Linked DNA regions of Homo sapiens: region 2 is linked to region 1. The links are contacts of gene promoters, found by promoter capture Hi-C in blood cells and fetal thymus (Javierre and others, 2016). All regions are on one chromosome and are shown on one strand. The core of a region is centred on a gene start or on the middle of the fragment in contact, and the rest is flanking DNA. Distances in the headings are between cores, read along the strand shown. Region 1 holds the start of FASTKD1 (FAST kinase domains 1). Region 2 holds the start of CERS6 (ceramide synthase 6).

Region 1 (4,331 bases), core at 1,807-4,306:
GGGATTCCAGGTGCCTGCCATCACGCCCAGCTAATTTTTGTATTTTTAGTAGAGGCAGGGTTTCACCATGTTGGCCAGGCTGGTCTTGAACTCCTGACCTCAGGTGATCCACCCACCTCAGCCTCCCAAAGTGCTGGGATTACAAGTGTGAGTCACCACACCCGACTGGCATTAATCTTAAATCTAACTGCTTACCTACTATATCCTCATCTGCAGCCAACCACATTTTCACAAAACTCCACAATAATCCAATTTCAAATGCCCACAGTTAACAATAGTATTACAGTTGTTAAAGGAGAATTGCTTGAACCTGGGAGGCGGAGGTTGCAGTGAGCCAAGATTGTGCCACTGTACTCCAGCCTGGTGACAGAGCAAGACTCCGCCTCAAAACAAAACAAAACAAAACAAAAAAATTAGATTATCAGGAAAACTACTGGTGAAAAAAATTATTTTTCATTTTGAAGAGATTTTTAGACCTGGCACAGTGGCTCACGCCTGTAATCCCAGCATTTTGGGAGGCCGAGGCATGCGGATCACAAGGTCAGGAGATCAAGACCATCCTGGCTAACATGGTGAAACCCCGTCTCTACTAAAAATACAAAAAAATTAGCCGGGCGTGGTGGCAGGCGCCTGTAGTCCCATTGACTCGGAAGGCTGAGGCAGGAGAATGGCGTGAACCTGGGAGGCAGAGCTTGCAGTGAGCCGAGATCATGCCACTGCACTCCAGCCTGGGCGACAGAGACTCCTCAAAAATAAATAAATAAAATGAAAATAAAGAGATTTTTAGAAAATTAAAATGTAAACTATATAATCATTCCATAAAATATAAAAGTAAATTACTTACTGTTGTGTGACGTATAACACATTCACCAGGGTATCGTCATTCATTAATTTGAATTTATTTGTAGCTAAATTATGAAGAGTAAGAAATTGAGGATGGTCTCTGACATACTCAGCATTTTTTAACAGGCTGGTCTTCTGCTTTTGAAGCTTCCAAAGCATATCAAATGCACATCCCACTTGCTTTTCTGAAAGTATGGCTTTGTTTCTTTCAATAAAACCAAACATTTGCTCCTCATCTGTACACTTATTCATCTGAATAATTAGTGGTTCACAACTGATGGGTCGAAATTGAAACACTCTCCAGGAGAATGGACAAATAGCTCTTAGACGAAGCATATTTGTAACCAATGACTCTAGGAAAACAGGTGTTTTTTTCATTTATATCACAAGTTTTCTTAGGTAAACAAAACCATCTGCAACTAGTCGTCAGGTGCAATAAGCAGGGATACAAATAACAGTTTTTCCTTCATGTATTTTGCTTCCATTACAATGACTGTAAACGCATTCCAATGTACAGCTTCTATAAAAGAATTGGTTTAACATGGTTATGCTTACATCATTAATATCAAAATGATTCCAAAATTCAAATTAAAGTAATACATTTTTTCTGCATTAACTAAAGACTTTTTCTTAGTCTAAACCAGATAGCAGAATTTGATCAAAAAATAAATGTCCAGAAAAAGGGGCTTCTTTCTGCACCCCATTTTAAAAGTGTTTTAAATCTGACATTTACATAAAGTTTTCAAATTTACCATAAAAGGAAAAAAAAAGCCCACAAACTCAGAGCTGTCTTTTCGAAAAAGAGGAAAATTGTTTAAAATAAATAATCACCTTCAAAGTTTCTAAAAAGTGTAGGCATTAATTCAGAGCCATATATATTTATACATACATATATATATACTTTTTTTTTTTAATTTTTCAGAAGTATGGTCTCAGGTTTATTTGCTTTCAGGATAATTTCTTGCCCCTTTTTCTTGTGCCCTTAAAGAGCTCAAATAATTCCTTTCTTTAGAAAATAAATAAATAAAAGAAGTCATATAATTTAATCATTACTGGCCTTGGATAGGTTTTAACCAATGAACGACACAATTAAAGCACCAATCAAGAAATACTAAGAAATTAAGTAATGTTTCAAGTCATGCTGAAACAATAAAAGAACTAAAGATAATTATGAAAAAAGAATAATTTGTTTTAAAAATATGCTATAAATGTTTACATTTATAATTGAGAAGTAATGGTTAGAAAAGCAGGGACTAAAGTCATATAATCTAATATTTCTGCAACATGTTACCATTTACAAAGAACGTTTGAAACACATTATCTCATTAAATTCTCTCAGCTAACCTTCCAGGTTGATATTATTTCCATTTTACAGATAAGGCAAAATAGGTTCAAAAAGGTTTAAAAAATCCTTCTAGTACTAGTGAAGCAGGGACTACAACTCAGTTCTTTCCACTTGAACAGCTTCATTACACAAACAAATCAACGCTGTATCACTAAATTCATGTCTCAGACCCCTCTCTACGGCTATGCCAAACAGTCTGTTCACAAGAAAAAACGACGCGACAGTACAGGCTATTTTGTGGCAAGCAGTACAGCATCCTGACCTAAGCTGACCTGGGTCACAAACCTGCACAAGAAAACCCTGCACAAATCAAAGGTATCCTCAAGATACTATATTCATCCACTGAGCTGCTCAAAGTGGAGGCAGCTCAATGGTTAGCATAGAAAGGTGTCGAGTCCCCAGCTTTGCCCCAGCTGAATGACCTTAAGGAAGGAACTTAACTACAGGAAGGGCCTTGGGACCCTAAGGGGTATCTTCTGCGCCGGGCATAAAGGAGAGCTAAACAAATGAGTGAATGAATGGGGTCTCAGCCCTGCCCTAGTCCATCCGCACTTCAGAGAACCCAATATCCCGAAGGAAGCCTCCGTATCTCAACTGAACCCTATGTCCCCAGCCCGAAAACGTGCTGGGTGGGAAAAGAAAAATAGCCGCTGCCACACAGTCCCGACTTGCCAGCAAGGTTTTCCCTCAGCGCGCCGCAAATTTTCTGGAGGATCCTGGGGTTATGAAAGCTCAGAAGTCAGGGTTATTCCTGGTCCCAACACGGAACGAAACAGGCTCGGATGTCTCGCCCAACCCTCATATCTCAGGGTTTATAACCTTTCTTCGAGAGACATGACCTTTCCCATGAGACCTTGCCCCCAAACCAGGAAAAAATGCCCGGCAGGCGCAGCGTGCACTGCGGAAGTCACGCACTACATATCCCAGGGTGGGTCGCGGCGAGGTGGGTGAAATGGACGTCGCTCACGCATTTTGGGGGAATTCTGGGCATTGTAGTTCCTCATTGAGGGAGGCTCTAGCGCAGTACACAGCTTAAGCTGTTGAAGAAGATATAGGTCGTTTAGGTGATTCTCTACTATCTAAGGTTGTTCTCCTAGTCCTTGGAAGTCTACTACTTTTATAATATACACAAAAATATACTTAGGAAAATGAAATTTAAAAATGTAAACATGGAAAAGACACGTACAGATTTTTCTTATTATTTTTTAGCATATACGAAATAACTCTGTCGAGTAACTTTGAAAGTATGCAAACTCATACTCTCAGTTTCTGCACTTATGTCGTGGATAGGTACCAGTTCTCAGACCATATTTTTTTTTTACTTACCATGGTATTTTAATAGTCCCAAGATTTGACACTTGACACTTAAAAAAAAAATACCACTAATAAATAACCAAAGTGGAATGCTTACCAAAGTTACAACAGACATAATTTTCAGCTGATAATCACTACAACAAAGTAAGGCTCTAAAGGTACCAAACTGATATTTGTTGGAATATGCTGTGCAACTTTCTTTTTTTTATTTTATTTATTTATTTTTTTTATTGATCATTCTTGGGTGTTTCTCGCAGAGGGGGATTTGGCAGGGTCGTAGGACAATAGTGGAGGGAAGGTCAGCAGATAAACAAGTGAACAAAGGTCTCTGGTTTTCCTAGGCAGAGGACCCTGCGGCCTTCTGCAGTGTTTGTGTCCCTGAGTACTTGAGATTAGGGAGTGGTGATGACTCTTAAGGAGCATGCTGCCTTCAACCATCTGTTTAACAAAGCACATCTTGCACCGCCCTTAATCCATTTAACCCTGAGTGGACACAGCACATGTTTCAGAGAGCACAGGGTTGGGGGTAAGGTCATAGATCAACAGGATAAGAATTTTTCTTAGTACAGAACAAAATGAAAAGTCTCCCATGTCTACTTCTTTCTACACAGACACAGCAACTTTCCGATTTCTCAATCTTTTCCCCACCTTTCCCCCTTTTCTATTCCATAAAACCGCCATTGTCATCATGGCCCGTTCTCAATGAGCTGTTGGGTACACCTCCCAGACGGGGTGGTGGCCGGGCAGAGGGGCTCCTCACTTCCCAGTAGGGGTGGCCGGGCAGAGGCGCCCCTCACCTCCCGGACAGGGCGGCTGGCGGGGCGGGGGG
Region 2 (4,937 bases), core at 1-2,500, 1.1 Mb before region 1:
ATGAGGGGAGAGAAATTGGAAGCACCAGTATAGGCCATTCTTCAGTTTCACTTTCAAGAGATAGAGTGGAAAGAGGGGAGGGAAGAGTAAAAGAAACTCCCTCTCTCTGTGTGTGTGTGTGTGTGTGTGTGTGCGGTTATATGCCCACTGGAAAGGTTTAGTATAGCCTACTGGCAGCACCAGGCAGAAAATGAATGTGAGAAAAATGAACAAAAATGCCCCAGAACCATGTATACATGGGCCATGGAATGAATTCACACATGGCTCCTGTATCAATGGGGAAATGCATTGCGGGAGGGAAGGTGCCTGGGTTAGGCCTCACAGGCCTAATGCCTTAAAGGTTTTAGATTCAAAAGGCAGAAATAATGAGCCTGCCGAGTAGCACAGTGGAGGTTCTCATGATGTGCCAGGTCAAAATGTGGTCTAGCAGCCTTTTCAGAGAGGTTAGTTGAGAGGGGTGGTTTTACAGAACGCTGCAGTTGCTATCATCATCATCATCATCATCATCATCGTCATCAAGTAGCAATTAATAATCAAATAGCAATTAAGTGCCTAATTTTTTGTACCACCTCATAAATCAATATAGGGGGGCTTGTTCCCTGGGGGAGCTACTTTGATGAGAAGCAGCAGTATAAAAGACCGGAAAGTCAAAGATTGGGGAAAGGCAGGCGTGGGGCAGAGGCAGAAGGCTCTTGCCAAACCATCCTGCCTCAGTTCCTGATTTTTCACCCTGCCTCTCCAAGCGCGGGAGTGGAGGATCCTTTCCCTCCCACTTCCTCCTTTGCTCTTTACCCCTCCCCCTCCCCCCCCCTTTTTTTTTTTTTGCTGTCCTCCTGGAGCAGGGCTGGTTCTGAAGCTTGGCGGCAGCCCCTACCTGCTGACCCACCGCCTCCGGGCGCACGGGAAGAGGACTGAGAGCCCTGAAACCCCAGCGGGGCAGGAGCCAGCATTCTGAGCATGTGCGAGCCAGCCAGGGGGCTAGGGCGGATTTGGGGGGTCGACTTTAGGTCGTCGCCCTAAGCGCAAAGCGAAAGAGCGGTGAGAGCAGGGGCGGGCGACACTCCCCGGAGCGGTGCCCCTGCGCCCAGGGCGCAGCGACTGCGCCCTGCCCTGCGGGTGTGGGCGAGTTGGCCGCGTGTGTGCCTCGCTGTTTGACGCGAAGACGAGCCAATCAGGGCGGGCGGCCCGAGCTGCCATGTGACGGGCAAGGCGGCCCCTTTCCCCAGCGCGGCCAGAGGGAGGAGAGAACCGGGGCTCGCCGCGAGCCTTCGAGAGCAGCGGCCGCGGAGGAGGCGGCGGCGGCGGGCGGGAGCAGCGGCGGCGGCGGCACAGGCTCGGGGCCAGCCGGGCGCGCATCCCCGGGCGCCCTGCGCGGTGGAGAGCTTGGCGGGCTGCGGGTGCCGCAGGACAGGAGTGGACAAAGCAAGATGGCAGGGATCTTAGCCTGGTTCTGGAACGAGAGGTTTTGGCTCCCGCACAATGTCACCTGGGCGGACCTGAAGAACACGGAGGAGGCCACCTTCCCGCAGGCTGAGGACCTCTATCTCGCTTTTCCCCTGGCCTTCTGTATCTTCATGGTGCGGCTCATCTTCGAGAGGTAAGAAGGGCTGAAGCCCCTCCTCCCCTCCCCCTGCGCACACACACGCGCGCACACACTCGCGCGCTCTCTGGCGCACGCCCCCGCGCCCCCAACGCTCGCGTTCACGCCTCCCAACCTTTGTGTTCGGGGAGGGGTTGCTGACCCCCCTGCCCCGCTGGCTTTCTGGGAGCCAGAAAGGGTCTGGCTTGCCACGGATTTCCTCCCGGGCGCCGGGGAGGAGCCGCGGAGCGTTAGGGTCGCCCCCTGCCCTCCTCCTGGGCCCTGCTCTCCTCCCGGCAAGGGCAGGCGAACAAAGGTGAGCGGTGGTCGGGCTCAGGACCCGCCGCATTCCGCGGGGCTCGCCCCTCTCCGCCGGCGCGCCACGCAAGGCTGCCAGGCAGGGCTTCCCGCCGGGGCCCGCGCCACCCACCTGACAGCCAGGAACGTTCCGGACGCGCGGCCCGGAGGGAGGAGGAACCGCGCACACTTCAATCTTTATGCTCCGGCACACGGATTGTAGGGGTTGTGCTTCAAAAGAATTCGCCAGGGACTTCCTGGCTTCTGGTCGCTGTTTGGTTTTTATCCGTGAAACTATCAGGCCCACAGTCCTGGCAAATAGGGGATAATAGCATTTCAGGTTATTAGCGGTTTCTTTAAAAGAGGATGTGACAGGACGGGTCCACATCCTGCAAAATGGTGATATTAAACTGATAACCCTGTCCTGTGAATAATCATAAACTTCTTTTTTGGTACTCGAAGGCACTTAAAATTTTGAGGAATTGTCATGCAATTGTATAGTTCCTCGGTTTGGTTGGATATCTCCATTGTGTCACATACAAACTTGTGTTATTCTCATGGAATTCGTTTTCGTCGCGAAACTAGATTGTGCCTGCCATGCATTCTCTGGGTGCTACTGAAAGAAAACCAGGACAGCAGCACACTTTTTTTTTCGTAACAGAAAATATTATCTTCCCCTTTCTTGTACCCTCCCCTTCCTCTGCCCAATTCATCAGTAAAGGCTGAATTTCTTAGATCACAAAGTAGAGTTTAGATTGCATTTCTCGCTTCCACTCCGCCTTTCTTCCCCGCCTTCAACTCACCTTGGTTTTGTTTCTTAAGCTTTTGCTGGTACCTCATTTGCTGTTCCTCTTTGCCTGAAAACGACTGTTGAGGGTGGCAGAACGCGTCTTTTGAGTCATTTGCTGCTGGACGAGGCAACAAAGCTTCATGGGGACAAAAAGTATCTTTTGTCTCAGGAAGGTATATTTTTCACCGGACAGTATTGTTGCTTGAAAACGAAGTCAGCTGTTCGCCTGCAGAAATTGACATGCACAAAGCAACAGACTTTAAGACCTATGTTTAAATTATTGGAATCTAATACAGATGTGTCATTGATCCTATACAAAAAAGGATCAAAAAAGTCACAGCAGTGCTGTGAAAAAATGGGTGTGTTTGCAGGTGTAGAGTTACCTCTAGAGCAAATGTTTGGTTACAGAAAATATGAACTCTATACAGTTTTGCAGGCTCTCCAAAAACAAGCAGACTCAGGGATAGCAGGTTTGCTCTATGTTGGCACATAGTAGGGGATCTACACACAATTGCTGAATTATGATAAATTGTGTCTGATAAATTCTGGCTGGGCTCACTTTTAGATAGATAATGCATTTGAAAGAGATGTGCAGTCTTATGTGTTGGAGAACAAAAGCATGATCTGTGCACAAACAGCCGAATTTTCCTGACATCCTCCTTCTCTATGCTGATTCCAGGCTGTTCACTGTGTTTAAAAAAATTAAGTTGTTAGAATGGAGATGGCTTTGTACTTAGATTGTCTCTGCCTCTAAAAAGATAAACACTAATGTGATAGTTGAAAACTGGAAGTTCATTTTTCCTCTTTCTAAACATTTTTTATTTTCTTTCTTTTTTTCCATAATCCCATGACTCGACTTAGAGTTTACATAGAGGGGTGAGCTGCTTTCAATTGTCAGTCACAGCAAATGTCCTCATATTGATATAAAGTGAGTTGGTCAGTTTCCTTCAGGCCATTGATCTAAGTAGAAGAGATTTAATGGCCTGTATGGAAAGTGAAAGTTTATGGTTAATGTTCAGAATAATAATCCAATATGGCACATATGTCACAGAATGCTACTGACTTTTGGAAGACTATCTACTTTGTTTCTTCCTATGATAGCTCTGTCTTTAACCATTCAGACCTTCTCAATTCTCTGAAAATCCACAATTTAGTTGTATCTAGAGTTAGAAGTTCTGCATGTTTCTCCTCTTCTCAAACCTAAATGACATATTCTGGGATCCAACCTGTGACCTTCATCTCAGTAGCATCCATCAAGGGCCTGAATCAATAAAACAGAACCATTCAGTATTATCACTGCTACAACTCACATTCAATGGCCTTCTAGCATTTTGTATATACATCCTTTTCTTTTGCAGTATTCTATAATGTATACGATGATTTTAAAAGCCTGTTGTGAATCCCTTTGTAGAATGAAATGCTTTTGTAATAGGAATAATTCTCTCAAGATTCTTCTCTTTGTATGCTTTGTCATTTATTTCAAAGCTGAGACCATACCTAAGAAATACCCGATTATCCAAGTCTTTATTTTACATTAAGTGAAGTCAGTAATGTCCTTGTTGAGGCTAAAATCGTGAATTTGAATGCCTTCTTCTCAGTCTTAGGTATTTCTCTCTACTAAGAGAAACATCAAAGAATTGACTGAAATGGGCTTTGCCCAGTTAAACAGTCCTTTCTTTTTATTTTCATCCCGGCTGTTGTGGTGTGGATAGTGGAGGCATTGGTAGCCAGAACATGTCACTTTATGACAGCATATGGACAGCAATATGGAAGCCCAGCATGGTTGGTAAAAAATGGGGCAGCCTAAGGTCAATGACTTTTGGCTGAGTCTGTGAAGATCTCAAAGCTTGGTGGTTTTTAGCATAGCCTTTATACCATACTTAACTCCGGGTAAGGACCAGGACCACTGTAGCGACCAATTGATTGACAGAGTAAAGTATGTGGGTTTTTTTTTTTCCCCCAACTGGGCTGATTCTCTTAGAATAAAAATTGTATACCATTATATTATGTTAACTTGATCACAAAGAACAAAATGTTATTTATTAATAATATAGCATTGTCATCTGTTTGATGAATTTTCTTGATTTAATGCTTGTTTAGATTCAGTAAGCCATTCTCAGGAACTATAATAAATGCTTCTTCCAACTTCACTTTTTCAAAAATGTGTTTTGCTGTGGTATTTATAAATGTGGAAATTGTGCTGAATCTCTTTAGAAATAAAAATTCTTTGAGTTATTGTTACAAATGTTAACTTTAATGCTGTGGATTTAG

What was found. Contacts are between HindIII fragments. The CHiCAGO score rates a contact against its expected background, and 5 or more counts as called.
Region 2: the fragment with the promoter of CERS6 here is called in contact with the fragment with the promoter of FASTKD1 in region 1 in 10 of 17 cell types (naive CD8 T cells, activated CD4 T cells, erythroblasts and 7 more); the score reaches 14.9 in naive CD8 T cells.

What each region holds. Positions count from the first base shown.
Region 1 is chr2:169,570,809-169,575,139 of GRCh38, forward strand. FASTKD1 (FAST kinase domains 1) reads right to left here and starts at 3,057. Exons shown (of 15, transcript NM_024622.6): 1 at 2,861-3,057; 2 at 845-1,363. The coding sequence starts at 1,221. RefSeq lists enhancers at 2,639-2,808, 2,664-3,266, 3,169-3,268. The HindIII fragment of the contact is 12,279 bases long and covers 989-4,331 here.
Region 2 is chr2:168,455,022-168,459,958 of GRCh38, forward strand. CERS6 (ceramide synthase 6) reads left to right here and starts at 1,251. Exons shown (of 10, transcript NM_203463.3): 1 at 1,251-1,597. The coding sequence starts at 1,428. It overlaps LOC102724081 (a long non-coding RNA gene), which reads right to left. Exons shown (of 4, transcript XR_002959433.2): 1 at 2,010-4,937. RefSeq lists silencers at 843-1,062, 1,093-1,182, 1,303-1,432, 1,883-1,942. The HindIII fragment of the contact is 1,842 bases long and covers 855-2,696 here.